Regions from separate parts of the Homo sapiens genome. Here all the other regions are linked to region 1. Evidence: promoter capture Hi-C in 16 types of primary human blood cells and fetal thymus (Javierre and others, 2016). All regions are on one chromosome and are shown on one strand. Each heading gives the region's core, a stretch centred on a gene start or on the middle of the fragment in contact. The rest is flanking DNA. Distances are from core to core; before and after follow the strand shown.

Region 1 (6,423 bases), core at 2,297-4,796:
TGCACTCCAGCCTTTCCAGCCTGGACAATAAGAGAAAAACTCCGTCTCAAAAAAAAAAGCCCAGGACCATTATTTTGCTTTCAGAAATACATTCGGATTCAGGTAGTGAAGAGTGGTATGAGTAATACTGTGAGCCAACAGTTAGAAATCCTAATACCGAACTGTGGATGTATATCTGAGGGCAATCTTTACTACAGCTGCTGCCGTGAAAGTCAGAATGAAGAAAATCTGTCACTGTTACAGAATTTGTGAGTATAGGTATGGCAAAAGGTACGCCAGTGGGAATTGCTGTCACAGGATGAGCTCCCAAGGAGAGTATTATAGACTTCTGGTGAGGCTTACAGTTAAATAGCCTGTATTTTCATTTAGAGGTTAGGCACTTAAATATATGTAATCAGCAAATTGCTTAATTTGTCCAAGTTTCCGTTTTTCTTTCCAGTACTACACAGTGGGATAGTCAGGATCAAATTAGTGTATTATCTATTACTTTGTAACAAATGACCCCAAAATTAAGTGGCTAAACTCTTAATTTCTCTGGTTTCTCTGGGTCAGGAATTCAGAAGCAGCTTCACTGGGCAGTTTTGATTTAGTGCCTAATGCGGTTGCAATTAGAAGCCACTGAGGCTACAGTCATCTGAAGGCTTGGCTGAGGCTGGCTGATTCACCTCCAAGATGGCTCACTCACAGAGCTGACAAGCCGATGCTGGCTGTTGGCAAGAGGCCTTAGTTTCTCTCCACATGGTTGCCTGAGTGAATTCATGACATGGCTGGCTTTCACCAGAGCAAATAATCCAAGCATGCCAGTCAACAGCATCCTTTTATGTTCTAGCCTCATAAATCACACTTCAGCCATATTCTATTGGTCACACAGAACAACCTGTTTCATTGTGGGAGAAGACCACACAACAGGATTAATACCGGAAGGCAAGGATCATCATGGCCATCTTACAAGCTGGCTAATACAGATGCATGGAAGTGCTTTAAACTGAAAAATGCTTTGCAAATGTGTAATGCTATTTTCTTTTTTTTTCTTTTGGTTCAAAGTGCTCAAATGATATTTTATATATACAGTATCTCACTGTCTCAGAATATCATCTAAACGCTGTCTTCATTATCCTATTTTAAATGTCCCAGAATGGGAATTTACTTGTCAGCAGCACGCTGTAATACACTGATTATCAACTCATACGCCATGGCACACTTGGGGACCTCAAGTCTCACAACGGCATCATCAGATTTAGCTCACTAGCTTCTCTCTCTCTCTTTTCTTCCTTTCTTCCCTTCTTTCTTTCTTTTGACGGAGTTTTCACTCTTGTTGCCCAGGCTGGAGTCCAATGGTGCTATCTCTGCTCACTGCAACCTCCGCCTCGCGGGTTCAAGTGATTCTTCTGCCTCAGCCTCCCTAGTAGCTGGGATTACAGGTGCCTGCCACCACACCCAACTAATTTTTGTATTTTTAGTGGAGATGGGGTTTCACCATGTTGGCCAGGCTGGTTTGGAACTCCTGACTTAAGGTGATCCACCTGCCTCGGCATCCCAAAGTGCTGGATTACAGGTGTGAGCCACTGCACCTGCCGCTCACTAGCTTATTTCTACAAGTGAGGTTAAATTATTATTTCAATGATACCTGTCAGAAGAAACTATGACAACAGCATCACTAGGTATGACTTGCCTCAAGAGAGATGGTGTCTTTTCTGCAATGTGTGAGTTTTGCCTAGACCCAAGTAATGACAAGGGACTGAAAGATAATGGCTAACATATAGTAAACACTTAACTGTCAAACATTATTCTAAGGGCTTTGCAGGTGTGAGGTCATTTAAGCCTTGGAACAATCCTTTGAGTAGATCCTATTAGGGATGAAGAAACTGGAAACAAAGTAAGTAATTTGCCCTAGTTGTATCTAGTGGCTGAATACTGATAGGGCCACTATTCAAATGCAAGCAGTCTGATTCCAGAGTTAAAAAAAATAACTAAATTATTGGCCTTGGTATTTTGCTACTTTCTTCAACATATCTCTGAAACTTAGGATTTTCAACTCTTAGAAATAACAAATATAGGCTGGGCGCAGTGGCTTACACTTACAAATACCAGCACTTTGGGAGGCCGAGGAGGGTGGATCACCTGAGGTCAGGAGATTGAGACCAGCCTGGCCAACAAGGTGAAACCCCGTCTCTACTAAAAATACAAAAATTAGCTGGGTGTGGTGGAGCAGGCCAGTAATCCCAGCTAATCGGGAAGCTGAGGCAGGAGAATCGCTTGAACCCAGGAGGCAGAGGTTGCAGTGAGCTCAGATCGGGCCAGCGTACTCCAGCCTGAGCAACAGAGTGAGACTGTCTCAAAAACAAACAAACAAACAAAGGCAGGGGGAGGGGGGCACATTTCCATGTTGACAGCTGCTCTGGCTCAGAAACTTTTAATTATCCACTAGTAGAGCCATCTGGATTACTGCAATAGTTCTCTAATAGGCCTTCTTTCTTTTTCTTGTCCCTCAAAATCTATAATATAGTCTCCCAACAGCAAGAGTGAACCTTTTAAAAGTGAGTCAGGTCATATCACTTGTCTGCTCCAATCCCTCCAGTGGGTTTTCAGTGATGACTTTCTTGTACCACCCTATTTAAAACCTCCATCCCTGCCCCTGCCCTGATTTGTTATCCTTTATCTGCTTTATTATCTCTATAGCACTTATCACCTATGTATCATAACACATATTTGACTTGTTTTTTTATCTCCTCCCATTGGAAGGCAGGGATCTTTGCTCCCTGCTATCTCAGATTCTACAATGGTGCTTGGCACATAGATAACACTCAATATCAGCATCCTAAGAGAGAGAAAAATGAAAAAGGAAAAGCACTCAATATGTTTTTGAATAAATGAATTAGTGTGTTTGTTATGACAATTTATGATAATCAAGGGGTTGGGTACTCATTACTGCTAAGTTAATTGAGCACTGTCTCAATTAATTGAGTTAATGTCTAAGCTTTCTGCATGTTTCATTTAATACCCACAATCTCCTGTGATGTAGTTCATTATTTTTTCCATTTTACCGAGTAGAAAACTGAGGACTAGAAGCTGATTCCCACAGCACGTTTCAGTTGAGTTGGATTTTGTTTTCCTGGGCCTGCTTCTTCATAAAGGGACTGGACTAAGAATACTCTTGACCAGCCCGTAAGAACTTGGCACTCGTCTCAGTAATCTGAGATAGCAGGGTTTGGCGTCCATAGCAACCACGGCGACAGGACGCGCTCGAGCAAGAACCAAAAAGCGAGAACAGGTACAAGGCCAAACTTTCTACATTCACAGACACCTACCAAACCCCGAACATGGAACACCAAATTAGAACGCTGACCAGTTCCTGGTAATGTAGAAAACACCCAAGTTAAAACGGCAACAGAGTGACACAGCAGCCATTGAAGATGCCCCACTTCAGGCACCGACAGGCGTCACGTGACGGGTGGGGAACGCCAACCGCCTGGGCCTAGCGCAGCTTCCTCCGCCCACCACGGAAGTGAGGCGGGGATACTAAAGCGACGGAGCCCGGTGGACGGAAGTGGGTGTTGGAGGCTTTAAGGTAGCTTTAAATTCGTGTTGTCCTGGGAGCTCGCCCTTTTCGGCTGGAGTCGGGCTTTACGGCGCCGGATGGCTCTGGACGTGAAGTCTCGGGCAAAGCGTTATGAGAAGCTGGACTTCCTTGGGGAGGGACAGGTGAGGCTCTCTGGAAGGACGGGGAGGGCCCCAAGCGGACAGCCCCGCGCCGCCTCCACCTTTGCGGGTTTTCCCGTGGAGGCCAGAGGTCTGGCTTGGCTGCTCGTTCTCGTTGGGGGAAACCGTCCAGACGCACTTGCTGCCCATTCTTTACATCCTGGGGGTGAATCCCTGAGGGGCCTCTCCTTGCTGAAGAGTAGCCTGGAGCTGGACGGAGACTGACCCGCCACGTTTCCAGCCGCCGCGAGTCTGCTCAGGAACTCTGGGCTCTTTGCTTCGCGAAATGTAAAAATGCAAAAAGGCAAACACAAAAACTCCCATAAACTTATGTTATTTCTATTTTTCTTTCTAGTTTGCCACCGTTTACAAGGCCAGAGATAAGAACACCAACCAAATTGTCGCCATTAAGAAAGTGAGTTACCTTTTTATGTTGTTTTTAAGTCTCCTTGAAGATGTCTGTATTATTAATTGACTGATAGCCATTTTATTAGTCTTGACCATACTCTGATAATGAGTTACTCATGTCATTTTCAGAGACAAAATAATTAATTAGTGCTTTGTGTTCCCAAACGGAACTCTAGGGTTGAACCCGTTTTAATTTCTATTGAAATGAAGAAGAAGCTGTATGTTATTTTTACTGCATAAATTCATATGTTGTGGGCAAGTACTGCCCATCTTTTCGGTCCTCAGAACTATTGGATACCATGATCTTTCTAGGTCACTGTTTATACCTCACCTGCATCCACTCAGTGTGTCGTATCTGTATTTTCTGTGTACGGATTTACCATGAAAGACTTTCACTAGCATGAACAACATTGATGTGAGGTCTAAAATGAGTTCAGTAGCTTCTTATATTCATTCAAAAGACCTGGGTCGGATTCAGTAGCTTCTTATATTCATTCAAAAGACTTGGGTCGGGCCAGCCGCGGTGGCTCACGCCTGTAATCCCAGCACTTTGGGAGGCCGAGGTGGGCGGATCACTTGGGGTCAAGAGATCCAGACCATCCTGGCCAACATGGTGAAACCCTGTCTCTACTAAAAATACAAATATTAGCTGGGTGTGGTGGCACCTGTCTGTAATCCCAGCTACTCGGGAGGCTGAGGCAGGAGAATCACTTGAACCTGGGAGGTGGAGGTTGTAATGAGCCGAGATGGTGCCACTGTGCTCCAGCCTGGTGACAGAGGGAGACTCCATCTTAAAAAAAAAAAAAAAAAGATTTGGGTCATAATTACATAACTCACGTTCACCTACATTGTTTCTTTTAACCTTCAAAACAATCTATAAAGTGGTTAAAAGTAACCCTATTTTATACTTGAGGTACCTGAGACTGAGTGACTAGGTGACTTGTCAAGATCACACAGCTAGTGATTGCTGAAGCTGGGATTTAAATCCAGGTGTCCTGATGTTGCTTTTGTTACCGTTGCTACTTTGAATCTGCTTCTCCTGCTTCAAAAACCCTAACTCCTTGGAAGTTATCCATATTTAACATTAATTCCCCCTTTTTTTGGTCATCTTCCAGCCTCCAAGTACTGTCTTGCATTCATTTAAAACCTGACTGACTACTTCTTCTCAATTATTCCTGCCATAATTTTTTTATTTTTTATTTTATTTTATTTTTTATTTTTTTTGAGACAGAATTTTGCTTGTTGCCCAGGCTGGAGTGCAATTGTGCGATTTCGGCTCACTGGAACCTCTGCCTCCCGGGTTCAAGCACTTCTCCTGTCTCAGCCTCTCCAGTAGCTGGGACTACAGGAACCTGCCACCACGCCCAGCTAATATTTGTATTTTTAGTAGAGACAGGGTTTCGCCATGTCGGCCAGGCTGGTCTCGAACTCCTGACCTCAGTTGATCCACCCACTTCGGCCTCCCAAAATGCTGGGATTACAGGTGTGAGCCACTGTGCCTGGCCTTCTTTTTTTTTTTTTTTTTTTTTTTTTAACTTTTTTACTTTTTTTATGTCCGTGTTTTCTGGTTTATGTTTTATGATCCACCACTACAGCCACTCCCTTTAAAACCCTTAACTCTACTGAATCTTTCTTCATCTTTCTTTCTTTTGTGGTGGCGGGGCAGGAGGAGGTCTCACTCTGTCGCCCAGGTGGAAGGGTTAGAGTGCAGTGGCACAGCCATAGCTCACTGCAGCCACCAACTCCTGGACTAAAGTAATCCTTCCACCCCAGCCTCCAAGGTAGCTGGGACTATAGACACATGCCACCAAGCCTGGCCTAGTCATCTTTTTAATTCTGTCTCTGGTTCACTATATCATAGCCACACTGACTTTTCTGTCCCTGTACAAATTAAATTTATTCCAGTCCCAGAATCACAGGATCATTGCATTTGGTCTGGCTTCTTGGTTGGTATATTTTCCGTCTAGAACATGGCATGGCTGATTCCTTATCATCCAGGCTTCACTCAAATGTCTCCTCCATAGAGGCCTTTGTTCATTCCAGCTACATGTATGCCTCCCTCCTTCCCTATGCTTTGCTATATTTCTGTCATCGATGTGGCATTTGTCGAAATTTGAAATCCTCCTATCTATGAGTTTATTGTCTGTTTAATTCCATTCACACTGTACCTAGGGCCATGGCTAGTACATTTGTAGACACTGTTAAAAATGTATTGGCCTTTCAGCTGGGCGCGGTGGCTCATGTTTGTAATACCAGCACTTTGGGAGCTCGAGGCAGGCGGATCACCTGAGGTCAGGAGTTCAAGACCAGCCTGGT
Region 2 (6,293 bases), core at 2,311-4,810, 2.2 Mb after region 1:
CATCCCTGTAATCACAGCATTTTAGGAGGCCAAGGCGAGAGAATTGCTTGAGCCCAGGAGTTTGAGACCAGCCTGGGCAATGTAGTGAGACCCCATCTCTACAAAAAATACAAAAATTACCTGGGCATTGTGGCGCACAGGAGGCTGAGGTGGGAGGATCACTTGAGCCTGGGAGTTCAAGGCAGCAGTGAGCCAAGATTGCACCACTGCACTCCAGCCTGGGAGACAGCGAGACTCTGTCTCATTTAAAAAAAAAATGTTTGAAAGGATTGGAATTTCTATTTTTAACATACTATAAACTGATCTAAAGGAGTGATCCAAGTTTTATGCCCTGCCTTCTAATAAAGACAGTAGTAGTGTGATTAATAAATCCTCCAAGAACAAAGCTTCTTTATTAAAGTTAGCCTGGGGTTTCTGAGGCAGGTTTATAATAAATCTCATTGTTGTATTGTTGATGGTTTAGCAGGTAGAGGTAGGAGTTGGGACAGTTCCTCAGCATAGCCCTTTTTCAGATTCACCAGGTCTTTGGCCCTGTTGAAGAAAGGGCCAGAAACCTAGGTTTTGAGTTGTTTAACATCCAGGAGTTGGAGACAAGTCACCTAAGTAAGCTGCTTCATGCCTTGGGATTGGGAGCCTCCTTTCACTGAGAAGTTAGAGGATAAGAACATTCTCTGTTGGGCGTGGTGGCTCATGCCTGTAATCTCAGTGTTTTGGGAAGCTAAGGTGGGAGGATTGCATGATCCCAGGAGTTTGAGACCAGCCTGGGCGATATGGTGAGACCTCGTCTCTACAAAAAATTAAAAGACAAAAATTAGCCTGGTGTGGTGGCATGCACCTGTAGTCCCAGCTACGTGGGAGGCTGAGGTGGGAGGATTGCTTGAGCTCAAGAAGTAGAGGTTACATGGAGCTGAGATCACAGCACTGCACTTCAGTCTGACACAGCAAGACCCTGTTGTTGTATTAAAAAAAAAAAAAAAAAGTATTCTTTACTTAGGACCTAACAAATTATTTGTATGTGATGACAAGCTTTTGACTGAAAAGTTGATTGTTGGATTGTACTGTCATTAACGAAATGCTGTGATATATCATTAAAAATTAGAAGTTAGAATAATTTTCTTCTTGCCTACAGATAGAATTGGGAAGATATAAATTAATAATTTATTAAAGATATTGTTATTTATGTTCAATAGTTCTTCACTGGAACAAGAAAAGAAAACTGAAAAGCCATCGACTCCAGTCCAGACAAGAGAGTAAGTATTTTATTTTTGAATATATTCTATTCCTACATTTTTTAAGAAATGAGATCAAATGGTGCTTCCTGTTATAGTTGAATTACATTTGATTGGGGTTGGGCACAGTGGTTCACTCCTGTAATCTCAGCACTTTGCGAAGCCAAGATGGGAGGATTGCCAGAAGCCAGGAGTTGAGACCAGCCTGGGCATCATAGTGACATTTTGTCTCTACAAAAAATGTAAAAATAAGCTGTGCATGGTGGTGTGTACATGTAGTCCTAGTTATTCAGGAGGCTGAGGTGGGAGGATCGCTCGAGCCCACATGTTCAAGGCTGTAGTGAACTATGATCACGCCACTGCATTCCAGCCTGGGTGACAGAGCAAGACTTTGTCTCTTAAAAAAAAATTACATTTGGTTGGGCTATTGTTTTTGTAATTTTAAAATTTTAATTTAATTTTTGAGACAGGATGTTGCTGTGTCACCTAGGCTGGAGTGCAGTGGTGTGAACATAGCTCACTGCAGCCTTGACCTCCTGGGCTCGTGATCCTCCTGCCTCAGCCTCCTGAGTAGCTGGGAGTACAGGTGTGTGCCACCACGGTTGGCTAAATTTTTTAGTTTTTTTTTTTTTTTTTTTTTTGAGATGGAGTCTTGCTCTGTCACCAGGCGGGAGTGCAGTGGTGCGATCTCGGCTCACTGCAGCCTCTGCCTCCCGGGTTCAAGCGATTCTGCTGCCTCAGCCTCCCGAGCAGCTGGGACTACGGGTGTGCGCCACCATGCCCAGCTAATTTTTGTATTTTTAGTAGAGACGGGGTTTTACCACGTTGGTCAGGATGGTCTCCATCTCTTGACCTCGTGATCGGCCCGCCTCGGCCTCCCAAAGTGCTGGGATTACAGGTGTAAGCCACCATGCCCAGCCTAAAGTTTTTAGTTTTTGAAGAGTTTTTTTTCATAGAGATAAGGTTTCACTATGTCGCCCAGGCTGGTGGTCTTGAACTTCTAAGCTCAAGTAATCCTCTCGCCTCAGCCTCCAAAAGTACTAGGATTACAGGCATGAGCTGCTGCATTTGGCCATTTTCCTTAAGGCTCAAATGAGCATGAAAATACTAACCCTGAAGGATTGTACTGAAAAGTTAATCAAATAATCTAGAAACTAATGCTATATAACTATAAGCATTATTATTATTATTATTATTTTTACAGATAGGGTCTTGCACTGTCACCTAGGCTGGGGTGCAGTGGTGTGATTAAACTCTTGGCCTCAAGAGATACTCCTGCCTCAGTCTCCTGAGTAGCTGGGACTATAGGCACGCATCACCATGCTGGGCTAATTTTTAAATTTTTTTTGTAGTGGTAAGGTCTTGCTATGTTGCCCAGGCTGATCTCAACTCCTGGCCTCGAGTGATTTTCCTGCCTTGGCCTCTGAAATTGCTAGGATTACAGGCCTGAACCACCATGTCCTGTCTGTTTCTCTTTATTTTAAAAGAGAGTAAAGACTGCTTGGGCCAGGCACGGTGGCTCACGCCTGTAATCCCGGCACTTTGGGAGGCTGAGGCGGGTGGATCACGAGGTCAGGAGTTTGAGACCAGCCTGGCCAACATCGTGAAAACCCGTCTCTACTAAAAATACAAAAATTAGCTAGGTGTGGAGGTGCGCGCCTGTAATCCCAGCTACTGGGGAGGCTGAGGCAGTAGAATGGTGTGAACCCAGGAGGCGGAGGTTGCAGTAAGTCGAGATCATGCCACTGCACTCCAGCCTGGGTGACAGGGCGAAACTCCATCTAAAAAAAAAAATAAGACTTCTTACTAAATGTCTCGAGATAAAACTTGAGAAAATCCTCTAATTGCGTCCTTAATAACACATACTGTTTTCATTTGGATTATAGGGAAAGTTGGAAATAGCTAGAAGGTTGAGTTTGTAATCATTTATTTTAAGTTTTATACTATTTAGGCACACTTTTCATGCCTTTGTGAATTAACTTATCTTTATATGTGGTAGGCAAGAAGGTAAGAGTACTCCTAATGCTGAAGATAATGAAATGGAAGAAGAGACAGATGATGGGCCATTACTGGTTCCTCGAGTAAAAGTGGCAGAAGATGGTTCCATTATTTTGGATGAAGAAAGGTATTTAGAAAAGAGAAAAAGTGAGATTGTGGTTACATGAGAACAAACATGCTTTGTCTAGTGAAAGAGGTCCTCTTTCTGTATTGGCCTTTGTCACTTAGACCTTGACGTTCTTATTTGCATAATGAATATTGTAAATAGAAAAGTGGGTTAGATTAATTTGTAAATTTTAGTAATTTTTATAACTATTTTGTATGAGAAGATGCCCTATCATCTATTAACCTAACACCATTGTTTTATTATCTTTACTGGTCATTGAGTCAGGCTGTTGAACTAATCATATGCTGTCTTCCACTGAGGATAAATTTCTAAGATTGACACAGTCTTGAAGTCAATATTCAAGTTCTCATATTATTAAGAGCATATCCTGGTGTGTGGTGATAACTAATGGATATACAATGAAATGTAGGTTTAACATATTTTATGATTTTTGTTATGGTGAGGTATAATTCATCTTTTGGTTTAATTTCTCAGTTATAACATTAAATTTTGCACATTGGGCATTGTGGAATTTAGTTGTCTTAAGGGTTTTTTTTTAAAAGATGATAAATTAGTAAGTAAATAAATAAAGCAATGGAAGGTCTTTGAAAGTTTAGCCAGTGAAAAATAATTTTATAGCATTCACATTCTATAATTAAACATAAATGTAATACTGCTAATAATAGTTGTTTTTGTGTGCTATTTTCCATTAGTTTGTGATGATGATTTTACTGGTCATTAAATAGTTAGAGCATATTTAACTGCTTTCTCTGCAGGAATGTAAAATATAAAGTGCTTGTGTTTTTCAAAATTTCCATGGAGTCCAGCACAGTAATACATATTGAATATCAAAGACATGTGCAAGTCAATAATACAAATACCGTTTTATAATACGTAGCCCAAAGATGTTTTGTAAATATTATATTGCTGTTATGGATTTTGAAAATGAGTTGACATTTCTTTCTACCCTCTTGGAATCACATTGTAGGTAAAACTTAGCAGATGCTTGGAAAATACCCATATTTCACATAGGTATTATTATGCCTTTGATATGATTGCCATGCTAAACCTCAAAATATAACTATTTACATCTCATTTGCTATTTGTTTCCTTGTTTTTAGTATACATCTATTTAAAAATGTGTTTATTTCAGTTTAACTGTAGAAGTTTTAAGAACAAAAGGCCCTTGTGTTGTTGAAGAAAATGACCCCATATTTGAGCGCGGTTCTACAACTACATACTCCAGCTTTAGGAAAAACTATTACTCTAAACCATGGTCAAATAAAGGTAACTAATTTTCATTTAAAAATGTGTAAGTTCTCTATTTGAAATGAATTGACTGTTTCTGAATTAAATCAGTTCTCCCCTAAGTACATAAAATGCAAACTACCATTTTATTCCAGCTAATTTTATTGACACCTCTATCTTATGCCCTCCATGGAATGGTATCTCTGACTTTGTCTTACAAATCTTCAAAAAAATTTTATTTTTTATAGCAACTGGGTCTCAGCCAGGTGCAGTGGCTTACACCTGTAATCCCTGCACTTTGGGAGGTTGAGGCAGGAGGATCACTTGAGGCCAGGAGTTTGAGACCAACTTGGGCAACAAAGCAAGACCTCATCTCTACAAAAAAATTAAGAAAAAAAATTAGAAAGTAGAGATAGGGTCTTGATTGATTGCCGAGGCTGGAGTGCAGTGAAACTATCTTAGCTTACTGCAGCCTTGAACTCTTGGGCTCATGTGATCTTCCTGCCTCAGCCTCCCAGAGTAGCTGGCACTACAGGCGTGTGCCACCAAACCCAGCTAATTTTTTGAAAAAAATTTTTTTATTTTTTGAGACGGAGTTTCCCTCTTGTTGCCCAGGCTGAAGTACAATGGCACGATCTCGGCTCACTGCAACCTCTGCCTCCTGGGTTCAAGCGATTCTCCTGCCTCAGCTTCCCAAGTAGCTGGGATTACAGGCATCTGCCACCACCCCCAGCTAATTTTTGTATTTTTAGTAGAGATGGGGTTTTATCATGTTGGCCAGGCTGCTCTCAAACTCCTGACCTCAGGTGGTCTGCTCACCTTGGCCTCCCAAAGTGCTGGGATTACAGGCATGAGCCACCGCACCTGGCCTGTGTTTTGGATTTTTTGAAGAAATAAGGTCTCAGTATGTTGCCCAGGCTGGTCTCCAATGCCTAGGCTCAAGCGATCCTTTGCCTCCCGAAGTGTTGAGATTATAGGCGTGAGTCGTTGTGCCCAGCCCAGAAATTTTTTTTTTTTTTTAATTTCTTTCAGTCACTGTTCTGCTGAAAGAAATATTTTTTAAGAATTACCTTTATAGTCGTTTTGGCTGGAATGTTCCTCTCTGTCAAATCTCTACAGTAAATACCATTTAAATAAAAATTAACAATACAATATTTCCTTTTTTTTTTTTTTTTGAGATGGAGTTTCGCTCTTGTCGCCTAGGCTGGAGTGCGGTGGCGCGATCTCGGCTCACTGCAACCTCTGCTTCCTGGGTTCAAGCGATTCTCCTGCCTCAGCCTCCCGAGCAGCTGGGATTACAGGCGCCTGCCACCATGCCCAGCTAATTTTTGTGTTTTTGGTAGAGATGGGGTTTCACCATGTTGGCCAGGCTGGTCTCGAACTCCTGACCTCAGGTGATCCGCCTGCCTCAGCCTCCCAAAGTGCTGGGATTACACGCGTGAGCCACTGTGCCCAGCCAACAATACAATATTTCTAATGCGAATAATGTTCTACCTCAGATAATATTGTATAATAAAGCTTCTATAGATAAATATGCTGTTAAAAATCTGTTGCATGTTGGTGCTTATTGTTTTTATTTTAAAAACAGTAGTTTTGAGGAAAAATTCAAACAGCAGGATATAGAGTAAAAAGATTCTATACTTCCCTTCTTTCACTTCCCTATTCCTATTCTCCTGAAGTGTAACTTCTGTTAGTAGTTTCTTTTTTTGAGA
Region 3 (6,458 bases), core at 2,063-4,562, 2.4 Mb after region 1:
GCCCTTCTCATGGCCGAAGGCACAGGAGCAAGAGGCTGAACACAAATTGGATTTAAAATCCTTGCTGGCATGTGATGAAATTAATGTGTGCTCACATTAGACAAAGCAAGTCCATGAGGGTGGGGGAGAATGGGATGAATGATCCAGTTTAGCTGTGTTTCCTGATTACAAATAAAAGCAACTATAATAAGTAATAATAATGGCAGGAATTTTATAGTGTACCCACCATTTTTCTAAAGGCTTTATGTGGTTTTACTCATGTATTTATCATAATGATCCTGTGCAGTAGGTACAATTGTTATTTCTGTTTTATAGATGGGAAAACTGTGGTATATAGGGTCCAAGAAATTTGTCTGAGATAACACAGAGCCTGAATTTGAAGCCAGGTGGTCTGGCTCATAACTCTTGAGTCCAGGGTCTTAACTGTTGCTCTATAATGCTTCTCACTCACCCAGCTCTACCTAGGTGGGTTCTATGGTTGAAAAGATGGGGTGGGAAACTTGTCAGTGGCTCAGCTCCAATTCATTATGACTGTCAGGCACTAACCTCTGTGGTTGCTCAGCTTCACAAGAAAATTACTAGGTTGTAGAATGTTGTTTCGCAGGTGATTAAAACACACACACACACACACACAAACACAAACACCTGGCGTCCTGAGAGATCAAGATTTGCCAAATGCAGTATCAGTAAGTAGGGAAACTGAAAGTTGAACTTGGTTTTGCCACTAAACTACACTGCCTCTTGGTTAGTGAGTCTCATCCTAAGGAGGCTAGGTTGGTTGATAAAGGATTGCCTGGGAGGTGAACTGTAGCCAGTACTGGCTCTTCTGTGATTTAAGTCTGATGGGCTGAGCTTGGCACAGATGTTGCCCAGTCTGTAGAGGCAAATGTCAGCTTCAGTGGGTCAGTGCTTTTCTTCTTTGACCCACTGGTTGCTTAAAAGTACGTTGTTTAATTTCCATATATTTGTGAATTTTCCAGTCATCCTTCTGCCATTGATTTCTAGTTTCATTCCATTGTGATTGAAAGGATACTTTTGGGCCAGGCATGGTGGCTCAGGCCTGTAATCCTAGCGCTTTGGGAGGCCGAGGCTGGTGGATCACCTGAGGTCAGGAGTTCTAGACCAGCCTGGCCAACATGGTGAAACCCTGTCTCCACTAAAAATAAAAAAATTACCTGGGCATGGTGGCGCACGCCTGTAATCCCAGCTACTTGGGAGTGTGAGGCAGGAGAGTCGCTTGAACCCGGGAGGCGGAGGTTGCAGTGAGCTGAGACTGTGCTACTGCACTCCAGCCTGGGCGACACGGCCAGACTCCGTCTCAAAAAAAAAAAAAAGGATACTTTGTATGATTTCAGTCTTTTAAAATTTATTAAGATTTGTTTTGTGGCCTGACATGTAGTCTATCTTGGAGAATGTTGCCTGTGCACTTGAGAAAAGTTACATACTTTTTTCTGCTGTTGTAGGGTGACAAGTTCTGTATATTGTGTTAGCTCCAACTGGTTCTTTCCCTAATACCATGCTGCTTCCTTGTTTTTTATTTTCTGGATTTTGCAGAGCAAGAGAATGTAGCAGAAATCATGACCCTCAGAGCTCTTGGAGCTGTAGAAAATAGGAAATAATGGAGATATACTGTAGACTGAATATTCATCTAAGTTTGAACAGTTAGGAAGTTGCTTAGTGTTCTGTCAAACAGAAGGAACTAAATAACTAGAGATGCTAATCACATGGGGAGCAAAATGTATTAGTGGGCCAAGTCTGAATTTCAAAGATAATTAGCTAGTTAAGTATTGTTCTAAAGTAATATGCTGACCAAACAAAATTTAAAAATACAGAAGGGTGAAAAGTTAGTCCCTCTACCTCTTTTCTACTTCTCACTGTCAATATTTCCTTGTGTATTACTTAATTTGTGTATATATGCCAGCATAGAGTTTTGTTCTGTTTTTTTTTTTTTTTTTTTGAGATGGAGTTTTGCTCTTGTTGCCCAGGCTGGAGTGCAATGATGCAATCTTGGCTCACTGCAACCTCCGCCTCCCGGGTTCGAGGGATTCTCCTGCCTCAGCCTCCCGAGTAGCTGGGATTACAGGCAAGCACCACCTTGCCTGGCTAATTTTGTATTTTTTAGTAGAGACGAGTTTTCTCCATGTTGGTCAGGCTGGTCTCGAACTCCCGACCGTAGGTGATCTGCCCGCCTCGGCCTCCCAAAGTGCTGAGATTACAGGCGTGAGCCACCACGGCTGGCCGAGTTTTGTTCTTTTTACTAATTTATTTATTTATTTGAAACAGTCTTGCTCTGTCACCCAGGCTGGAGTACAATGGCACGATCCTAGTTCACTGCAGCTTCAAACTCCTGGGCTCAAGAGATCCTTCCACCTTAGTTGGTCAAGTCGCTGGGACACACCACCATGCCCAGATAATTTTTAAATTTTTATTCTTTTTATTTTTATTCTTTTTGTAAAGATGGAAGTCTCCCTATGTTACTCAGGCTGGTCTCAAACTCCTGGGCTTAAGCGATGCTCCTGCCTCCGCCTTCCAAAGCTCTGGGATAACAGACATAAGCCACCACACTCAGCCTGTTCTTTTTAAAACATAAAATAGGATCCTTGGCCAGGTGCGGTGGCTCATGCCTGTAATCCCAGCACTTTGGGAGGCCGAGATGGGCAAATCACTTGAGGTAAGGAGTTTGAGATCAGCCTGGCCAACATGGCGAAACCCGGTCTCTATTAAAAATACAATAATTAGCTGGGCATGGTGGCACACACCTGTAGTCCCAGCTACTTAGGAGGCTGAGGCAGGAGAATCGCTTGATCTCGGGAGGCGGAGGTTGCAGTGAGCCGAGATTGCACCATTGCACTCCAGCCGGGGCAACAAAGGGAGACTCTGTCCCAAAAAATAAAAATACAAAATTAAAAATAAAAATAAGATCCTTTTTCTCCCTCTGGGATTTGTTTTTAAGTGTACTTTGTCAGTAAGCAAGCATTGGTTGGAATCTCAGATAGTGACTGATGGGACAGGAAAAATAAGATGGTATTCTAACCTTCAAAAAGCTTATATTCCTTAAAATAGGAAAACAAATAGAGATCAGTTTAAGTTCAGAAGGTGTTTAAGGAAGAAAGATGTTAAATTGAGTAGGAGTGGCCAGAAGTAGAGTTGAAGATGAGATAAAACATGAATTAGGCTTACAGAGGAGTAAGATATGGAGAGATGGACAAGTGGGGTGGTGAAGAAGAGCTTGAACAAGACAGGCAGGGGTGAATCTTTTCCATACGATCCAGTGGCCCAGCGTGGCTGCCACAGATGGGGTGGCCCAGTGTGGCGGCCACACAGAGTTGGCACAGACCACTGTTTTTTTTTTTTTTTTGACCTTTATTTTGGTAAAAAGGAATTGCTTTCTAATATTTCTCTCCCCTGTCTCCTCTATTTCTGTTTTAGGAGAACTACAAGCAGATGAAAGCACTAGTAAATCAGCTCCATGAACGAGTGGAGCATATAAAACTAGGTAAACACAGCATTTATTCCACAGCTTATGCCTTTACTTAAGATGTCCTAAAATAGTTATTGCTTTTAGGAAAAATACTGGAATTAAGCTTTTGATATTTTTTTTTTTTTTTTGAGATGGAGTCTTGCTCTCTTGCCCAGGCTGGAGTGCAGTGGCGCCATCTCAGCTCACTGCAACCTCCGCCTCCTGGGTTCAAGCCATTCTCCTGCCTCAGCCTCCCAAGTTGTTGGGATTACAGGTGCCTGCCTCCATGCCTGTCTAATTTTTGTATTTTTTAAATAGAGACAAGGTTTCACCATGTTGGCCAGGCTGGTCTTGAACTACTGATGTCAAGTGATCCATCTGCCTTGGCCTCCCAAAGTGCTGCAATTATAGGCGTGAGCCACTACTCCTGGCTGAGCTTTTGACTCTTAAGACTATGCATTTGTTGGTATGCAGGCATTTAATTTTATTTTTCCTATTACTTGGCCAGTTTTTCTCTTCATAGAGTACTACCACTTTTGGGGGGAAAAGTAAAGATTCAAATTCATAAATTTTATGAATAAATAATTTATTTTTAATTTTTATTAATTTTTTTTTTAAGAGATGGGTTCTTGCTCTATTGCCAGGCTGGACTGAACCCCTGGCTCAAGCGATCCTCTCATCTTGGCCTCCCAAAGTGCTGGGATTACAGGTATGAGCCACCACACCTGGCCAGTGATTTCTTAGTAGGCATTTAATATTTCCTCCCTAAGTGCTGAATCTCAGATGGAAAGCATTCTTCATATTTGATAGACTGTTTCAGATAACTTTTATCAACAAGTATATAATACTTAAAATTGTATATAATACTTTTAATGTAAAATTTTACATTTAGGTTAGAGTAGTTTAAATACTGGATCTCAGGAGTATAAAAATAGTGAAGAAGACTGGATTTGGAAAGTATGGTCTAGAATTGCTTATTTACTAGTTTATTTAGAGACAGGGTCTCCTCACTCTGTTGCTCGGGCTGGACTCGAAGTCGGGAGCTCAAGTGATCTTCTTGCCTCAGCCTCCCAAGTAGCTGAGACTGTACCTGTGCCCCTGTACGCAGCTATGGAATTCATACTTTTGAAGCCATTTTAGATCAAGGTGTTGTCTCCAGAAAAAGAATTCAAACTCTTGCTGAAATGAAAGTGTTTTGTTAGGGGTGATAACTCAATTGTTATGCCCATTTTGAGAGTTTGATTTGGTGAACTCACTGTCCCCCTTAGACATTAAGATGGTGGGTTTTGGGGCCAGGCACAGTGGCTCACGCCTGTAATCCCAGCACTTTGGGAGGCCGAGGTGGGCGGATCACATGAAGTCAGGAGTTCGAGACCAGACTGAGCAACATGGTGAAACCCTGTCTCTACTAAAAATACAAAATTAGCTGGGTGTGGTGGCGCATGCTTGTAATCCCACCTACTCGGGAGGCTGAGGCAGGAGAATTGTTTGAACCTGGGAGGCGGAGGTTGCAGTGAGCCAAGATGGTGCCATTGCACTCTAGCCTGGGTAACAGAGCGAAATTCCGTCTCAAAAAAAAAAAAAAAAGAGGTGGGTTTGACTCAATGGAGGGTTGAGGAGTCCTGTGGCATCAGGTGCCTGCTGGGGATGGTGGATGCTGAGGAACCGTGGTGCAGGCTGGTGGCCACAGGAGGGTAGAGGACTGAGCCGGACTCCCTGGGGAAGGAGGTAGGGAGAAGGGGGAAAGGACAAACTTGGCTGTCACAGCTTTGCCAAGAATTAAATGTCAGGGGAGCTTAATTATGTGCTCTGTGAGCCTGCATCAAGGATAACCCTCTTTCTGGTTCTTCCTAATAAAACCAGAATTCACCAGCTGCTCCAAATTGTAAGGCCCCACTCTAGACAGAATTGCTAAAGAGTGATGTTGTCTTAAGTCTCTCTCTTTTTTTTTTTTTTTACTGAGACGGAGTCTTGCTCTGTCACTCAGGCTGGGGTGTAGTGGCGCGATCTCAGTTCACTACAACCTTGGCCCCCCGGGTTCAAGCGATTCTCCCGCCTCAGCCTCCCGAATAGCTGGGACTACAGGCATGCACCACCACACCCAGCTAATTTTTCATATTTTTAGTAGAGATGGGGTTTCACCATGTTGTCCAGGCTGGTCTCAAACTCCTGGCCTCAAGTGATCCACCCACCTCAGCCTCCCAAAGTGCTGGGATTACAGGCATGACCCACCTGTCACTTTGGGAGGTCAAGGCAGGAGAATTGCATGAAGCCAGGTGTTTGAAACCAGCCTGGGCAACAGAGTGAGACCTCATCACAAAAATTTAGCTGGAGTGGTGGCACATGCCTGTAGTCCCAGCTGCTGGGAAGCCTGAGGTGAGAGGATCACTTGAATTTAGGAGTTCAAGGCTGTAGTGAGCCATGCTGGCACCACTGCACTCCAGCCTGGGTGACAGAGTAAGATCTTGTCTCAAAAAAAAAAAAAAAAAAGGTCCTACTTGGAAGATCGTTTGAGATTATTTTCTTGCCTAAATAAACAAAGAAATAGCTTTCTGAAATAGCTGAACATTTCATTAGACAAAGACTATATTAAGATGAAATTCTTGGACACCAATAAAAATAAACTAATGTTTTAATTATTAAAGGTACAATTTGATACTTCTGTTCTTGCTCCATTACCTTGGTTTGCCGAGAGTGGGTTATAGATATTCCCAAGAATACTCCAGTGGGCTCTTCAGTTATAATTTTCTTTGTCTGTCATGATGTGAGCAATGTTGAGAAGCACTGAAGACAATCTCTGAGTCAAGGAAGGGGACTTTTAAATTGCTAAAGTGTTCAACTCACCCAGTTGCAAGCCTAAAAAGTTACGGATCACTAATGTCATCTTTAGGTAAATTTACTGCACTTATCATGGAAGTAATTTCTAAAATTTTATTTTTACCTGGTACAAATGAAGATAGGAATTTTCCAGATCTATCATAGCATGTATTTAATAAAT
Region 4 (6,488 bases), core at 2,373-4,872, 2.3 Mb after region 1:
GGACAGGGATTTTTGGGGCTGAGAAAAATGTGAGGAAATGTGCCTTAATATATAGAAGTTTGTCAGGATAAACTTGGCCTGCTTCAAAATTTCACTTAGTTGTTTCTCTATAGTCTTCTCTCCATGCTACTTGAAATATATTAGAACAATGATGTCAGAGGTTTAACCTGTTACGAATACTTAATTTTTTAAAAGTTAATACCAGTGAGCTTAGTCATAGGTTTGATCTGCTTTCATGTTTGTTGACTTTATTTTTTTCTGTCCTCTGTAAATCCAGCTTCCATTGCTGATTCATGCTATTGGTAATGAGAATCAAGAAGCTCAGTAAAAATCTTTCATCCTTATTTTTAAAAAGCCGAAGGTTTAAGTAACTTGCCTATTGGCAAAGACATATTAAGTAGAGAGCAGTATGTTATTCCTAAGAGTTTCATTTTAATGCTTACTGCATTTAAAAAAAAATGCTTGTTTTATGAGAGAAAATTACCATAGGGTTTTTTGTTGTTAACAGAATAAATTTAAACGGGAAGAGAAAACAAATGGATGGAGAATAGACAAAGCATTCCGTAAGTATTAAGACCTCTTTTACAAAGTATTACTTGAAGAGCCTAAAAAATGACCAGTCTTTTGTCTTTGGCTTTAGTGTGTTTTAGATTTGTTTTGTTCCTGTATTGGCATTAAGAGGAAGCAGTCTGAAATTTTTCTGTTTAGCAGTATGGGTCTGGCACTTGCTACAAATATATTGGCAGGAGATTATCCAGAACATCTAGGTGCAGGTAAACAGTTCTAAGTCCAAGAAGTTATGGAGGGATTGATGCTACCACTTCTAAGTGTTATTTATTCTGAAGGAACTGTATGGGAGGAGATCATTGTTTCTGGAAGACAGTACTATTAGTTATATAGATGGTTCTTTCTGGTTCTGAATGACTAATCAGTCATTCAGTCAATAACACTGACCACCTACTATATGGTAGTCATTGTTCTAGGTATTGAGCATGTAATGGTGGAAGATAAATGGCAGATGAGAATCCTGCATTTAGAACCTTAAGTCTGATTGGATGGCGGAAGAAATATAGTTGATAAGCATAATTTTAGGTAGTGATTCATTTCCAAAAAGAAGAAAAAAGAGAGGGTGGATGTTTAGGTCTCTTTTTTCCTAATGATCATTGGATCATTAGGGAAGTTCTGTCTGAAGAGATACACTAGCATTTGAATTTAGATCTCATCTGAAGGAATGATAGATATCTTGCAATTTCTAACTAAAATCCTCATTAAAATTAACATATTTTTCTTCAAGTCTAGAGAAAGATATCAAAGGATCTATAAAGAAAAATACATTTACTGTTAAAAATAGTTCTTGTATTTTTTGATTACAAGATAGGTCTTTTTTTCACCACAGCTGTGGACAGGAATATATTTTTTGTGGATTTACAATTATCAGTATTTTATGATTAATAAATGTATTCAATGTCCATTTAGTCGTAAGATTAGCCATAGTGCTAATTTTAGAAAAAAAAAATCCAAATGTAGAGAGTACCTACATTATGTAGCATGTATATTTATTTTATGAGTAGACACTAAGGTAGGTGGGTGGATCCTACACCCAGTGTTTTATCGGGTCTTTAGGGAAACTGCTTTGAGGAATGGCTCTTAGAAGATCTGGAATATTGTGCTCCTCAGCCCATTCCATATTAGAGAAGTGGTCCTGAAACTTCATTAAGTGTAACACATTATAGTCAGAAAATAATTCGTAAATCTATAAACAGTCTATTTGGATTGTGAAGCATTTTTATAGACTATTATAATAGATATTTTTAAAATTTATTGATCTTAAACAGGATACAGTGTTGTATGCCTATAGGCCCAGCTACTCTCAGGAGTCGCTGAGGCAGGAGGATCTTTTCAGCCGAAGAATTCGAGGCCAGCCTGGGCAACACAGCAAGATCCTATCTCAAAACTAGAAACAACTCATTGATTTGGAGGCTTTCTATTGGAAATTTTTTTTTTAAATTAAAACCTATATAAGTTTTTTGAGAGAACTTATGTTTTGAATTTCTCTGAGAACCATGTGGAGATCCTTTATGATTCTTTGAGTGCTATGTCTTTCAGAATCATTGTGGAGAGTCAGAACAAATGAAGTCTGGGTCAACAGTGAAATAGGGTCTTCAGGAATCCCAGATTTGGGTTTAGTTTCCAGAGATTCTTTTTATTTTAGTATATACCTTCTTTTCTGAGGCTATCTTGTAATCAAACCAGTCTTTGGCTTATGTGCATAGAGCACCATTTTCTCTACATTGACTTTAAGTTCAAGCAAGGATTTGCCTCCTGGTCTGGATTCATTCCTGGAGTGTTCACTGATTACTTTCAGATATAATGCTGTTGATAGGTATTTAGTGGGCATGTTCCTGATTAAATTCATTTACTTCCCACTTTGCTGATACTTATAAGAGTAAATGGTGAAATGGTTGTGATAAAGGTAGGGCATATGGTGGTGAACAGGCATTTCAAGGACTTCTCAGTCCATAAAAAAATTGATTTATATTTATACACAGCTCAAAGTGTAGTTCAAGTTTTGACAAAGAATATGCCTGTGTAATCACTACCCCAAACAATAGAGGAAATGTTTTCATCACTTCACAAGGTCTATTATGTCCCTTTCTGAACAATCAAATGCTGTCCTCCTGGCCCAAGGCAACCACTATTTTCATTTTAATCACCATAGATAGCTTAGTGTGTTCTAGAATATCTTATACATGGTATCATATAGTATGTACCCTAGTATCTGTTTTCTTCCACTCAGTATGTTTTTGAGATTCCCTCATATTATTGCATGTATCAGTAGTTTGTTCCTTTTGTTTTGTTTAAAACTAGTTTATTTGCAATAAACAAATTATTACAAATTTGTAATAAATTATTATTTGTAATAAACTAGTTTATTTGTTTCGTTGCTGAGTGGTGTTCTGATGTGAACTAATCTATTTCCCTGCTAAGACCAACCTATTCTGTTGCTGAGTGGTGTTCTGTTGTGTATTTGTTTTTCTGTTCTCCTACTGATAAACAAACCCATTTGCTTTTGATGTTATGATACTTTAAAAGCTAGAAGTAGCTTTTAAAAATAAAAACTTGAAAGTTCTTTTCCTTTTCTTTAAACAGAGGAAAAGCGCCCTTTTGACTTCGATTTTTTTGCTCATTTGCTTCAGAAAGTTCTTGCTGAAGAAGAGAAAAGAAAACAAAAATCTGTTAAAAATCACAGTTTAAAGGAGAAGAAATCCACCAAACCACGGAAAAATGTAAAAGGTATTGATTTTAAAAGGAAGTGTGATAGTTTACTTAGTAGTAATAAACTTGCAATATTGTCCCTCAGGCCTTTGAGAGTTCATGTGTAGCTCAGGTAGTTAAGATCATCAAAGCATCCAGTTGGAGGGAGTATATGTTTTTTCAATCAACTAGTTATCTGGTCCAAAACAATAGCTTTCTTTTAAAATTTTTAACTGGCGTGATTGGGTTATTTGATATCTCTCTAGCATAGAGGATAGTTGTAGCCAGTCAAAGAGCATCAGAATTTGGAGTGTTGTATTTCATGTTTGATTATTTATTATCATTTTCCTCTGTAAAACAAATCTGGTATAAAATTCTAGGATTAAAAAAAGGAACTCTAATCTTCTGGGGTTGTGACTAGACTGTATTGGTTGAGCGTAACTTATTTCTGAAGGCTAATGTTGAGTTGTAACAGGTAGAAATTGTATATATGTAGGTATTTTTATTTTTAGGCTTATGTTTTCTTAACTATTTGAACTCTGGTCTATAAGGACAATGTTTAGCTATAATCACATAAAGAAGACGCTCGGAACTATAGGGAACCTTATATGTTAGCTAGCTTACATTTTAGCCCCCTTTGTGTTGTTTTTTTCTTTTTTTCTGTTTTTTTTGAGACAGAGTTTCGCTCTGTTGCCCAGGCTGGAGTGCAGTGGCACGATCTCGACTCACTGCAAGCTCCGCCTTCCGGGTTCACGCCATTCTCCTGCCTCAGCCTCCCGAGTAGCTGGGATTACAGGTGCCCGTCACCACACCCGGCTAATTTTTTTTGTATTTTTAGTAGAGACGGGGTTTCACCATGTTAGCCAGGATGGTCTTGATCTCTTGACCTCATGATATGCCTGCCTCGGCCTCCCAAAGTGCTGGGATTACAGGCGTGAGCCACCGTGCCCGGCCCTTTGTATTGGTTTTAATCACCAAGAAACAGCCCCAGAGATCGTAAGACACTTTTTCCTAAGGACTCACAGTGTGTGTAGTGGCAGAGGCAGAACTGAAACCTGGGATGGTGAGAGCCTGTGTTGGGGGTCCCCACGACCACCACCGGGGTTCGATTATCCACTAGGAAGACTAAGGATTCAGCATCCTCTGCCTGGAACATACAAAAATTTCGGATTTTCAAAAGAAAAGCAGTTCAGCATAAACCACATTGTACAGCTAAGGCACAGTGAGCCACTCTTATCAGTTAGGGTGGTAGGAACCCTTCCCAGAACCAAATTCTGAGACATGGCCCAAGGGCCAACCTTATAAGAAGGATTTTCAAAGGATAGCAGTCAAGCCTGCAAAATTAACTCTTTACTGTTCAAAGCTAGGCTAGAATTTCTTCTTCTGGGGCATATCTTTTAAAAAGTAGTATTGATAACTACAAAATACCTTTATTCTTAGTAGTCTTTTTTTTTTACTTACACATAATCGTAGAAGATTATGTATCTTCTTGTATGTTACAGGTGATAACATGAGTAACTCACTGTATCTTACTTAATGTAAGAACTTTTTTTTTGAGACAGGGTCTCACTTTGTTGCCCAGGCTGGAGTGCAGTGGCCTGATCTCGGCTCACTGAATCCTTCACTGCTCGAGTTCAAGCAGTTCTTTCACCTCAGCCTCCTGAGTAGCTGGAATTACAGGCATGTGCCACCATGCCCAGCTAATTTTTGTAATTTTTTTGTAGAGATGGGATTTTATCATATTGGCCAGACTGGTCTTAAACCCCTGACCTCAAATGATCGCCCACCTTGGCCTCCCAAAGTACTGGGATTGCAGGTGTGAGCCACCACGCCCAGCCAGAACTTTTTTTTTTTTTTGAGACGGAGTTTTGCTCTTGTTGCCCAGGCTGGAGTGCCATGGTGCCATCTCAGCTCACTGCAGCCTCCACCTCTCCAGTTGAAGCGATTCTCCTGCCTCAGCTTCCCAAGTAGCTGGGATTACAGGCAAGTACCACCACACCCAGCTAATTTTTGTATTTTTAGTAGAGACGGGGTTTCACCATGTTGGCCAGCCTGGTCTTGAGCTCCTGACCTCAAGTGATCTGCCTGTGTCAGCCTCCCAAAGTGCTAGGATTACAGGCGTGAGCCACCATGCCCAGCCCAGAGTTTTGCTCTTGTTGCCCAGGCTGGAGTGCAATGGTGCGATCTTGGCTCACTGCAACCTCCGCCTCCCGTGTTCAAGTGATTCTCCTGCCTCAGCCTCCCGAGCAGCTGGGATTACAGGCGCCTGCCACCATGTCCAGCTAATTTCTGTATTTTTGGTAGAGATGGGGTTTCACCATGTTGGCCAGGCTGGTCTCGAACTGCTGACCTCAGATGATCCACCCTCCTCAGCCTCCCAAAGTGCTGGGATTACAGGTGTGAGCCACCATGCCCAGCCTGTATTAAATGCATTTTCAATTTACAGTATACTCAACTTATGATGGGTTTATTGGGATGAAACCCAGTGTAAGTCAAGGAGCATCTCTATATGTAACTGTTTTTGTTTAATAAAAATGAGATTTTATGTGTATCTTGTTCTGCTTGGTTTTTTAAATGCAACAATATGCTTTGAAATTTTTCACATGACTACATATAATCTTACCTCATTATTATTATTGGCTCCGTGGATTTTTATATATTATTTAGTCATTTCCCATTAGACATTTTAGGTTGTCTTTAGGTTTTTTGTTCATACAAATAAATAATACAGAGGACATCTTTGAGTCTCTTTCCCACCTTTACAAATTTTTCTTTAGGTTGTTTAAATATTTATAGTAATTTCTCTTGTTTTCAGTGAAAAAAGTTGCCTGTGAAGGAGTGAATAATGATCCAGATGAGTCTATGAGTTCTAGAATTTCAGACACGGAAAGATCTCAGAAGGATGCTCAGACAGTTGAAGAAGAGTCTCTGACCTTATCAAGGGAGGATGCAGAGCAGGTTGCATTAGAAGTAGACCTAAATCAAAAGAAAAGAAGGAGGAAGAAGCAAGATGGAGCTAATGAACTGGGAGTAAACAATCTTTTAGAAAATGCCACTGTTCAGGCGGGTCCTTCTAAAGGAGAAAAACACAAGAGTAAGTTTCTTACATATTTAAAAAGCCTCTATATTACTTGAGAAGACATGTACAGTAATATGGTATGTAACTTAATTTTCTGTCTAGATAGCAATTAATGATGCTTATTAATTGGTTCTGTACTAATGGTACTGTGCTA

The links. The method cuts DNA at HindIII sites, captures the fragments that hold promoters and counts their contacts. A CHiCAGO score of 5 or more calls a contact.
Region 2: a contact is called between a fragment that was not itself captured here and the fragment with the promoter of CDK7 in region 1, in 1 of 17 cell types (total CD4 T cells). The highest score is 6.1, in total CD4 T cells.
Region 3: a fragment that was not itself captured here is called in contact with the fragment with the promoter of CDK7 in region 1 in 3 of 17 cell types (non-activated CD4 T cells, total CD4 T cells and activated CD4 T cells); the score reaches 10.5 in non-activated CD4 T cells.
Region 4: a fragment that was not itself captured here is called in contact with the fragment with the promoter of CDK7 in region 1 in 2 of 17 cell types (fetal thymus and total CD4 T cells); the score reaches 8.4 in fetal thymus.

The regions. Positions count from the first base shown.
Region 1 is chr5:69,231,340-69,237,762 of GRCh38, forward strand. CDK7 (cyclin dependent kinase 7) reads left to right here and starts at 3,547. Exons shown (of 12, transcript NM_001799.4): 1 at 3,547-3,702; 2 at 4,055-4,114. The coding sequence starts at 3,637. RefSeq lists enhancers at 3,269-3,797, 5,509-6,009. The HindIII fragment of the contact is 18,686 bases long and covers 2,976-6,423 here.
Region 2 is chr5:71,462,868-71,469,160 of GRCh38, forward strand. It overlaps BDP1 (BDP1 general transcription factor IIIB subunit), which reads left to right. Exons shown (of 39, transcript NM_018429.3): 4 at 1,191-1,250; 5 at 3,229-3,354; 6 at 4,487-4,620. Among named protein-coding and RNA genes, the nearest start is that of BDP1, 10 kb to the left of the region's middle. The HindIII fragment of the contact is 5,073 bases long and covers 1,025-6,097 here.
Region 3 is chr5:71,589,497-71,595,954 of GRCh38, forward strand. MCCC2 (methylcrotonyl-CoA carboxylase subunit 2) reads left to right here. Exons shown (of 17, transcript NM_022132.5): 2 at 3,430-3,496. Among named protein-coding and RNA genes, the nearest start is that of MCCC2, 5.4 kb to the left of the region's middle. The HindIII fragment of the contact is 540 bases long and covers 3,043-3,582 here.
Region 4 is chr5:71,483,334-71,489,821 of GRCh38, forward strand. It overlaps BDP1 (BDP1 general transcription factor IIIB subunit), which reads left to right. Exons shown (of 39, transcript NM_018429.3): 8 at 509-563; 9 at 3,151-3,294; 10 at 6,071-6,349. Among named protein-coding and RNA genes, the nearest start is that of BDP1, 31 kb to the left of the region's middle. RefSeq lists an enhancer at 69-363. The HindIII fragment of the contact is 7,674 bases long and covers 1-6,488 here.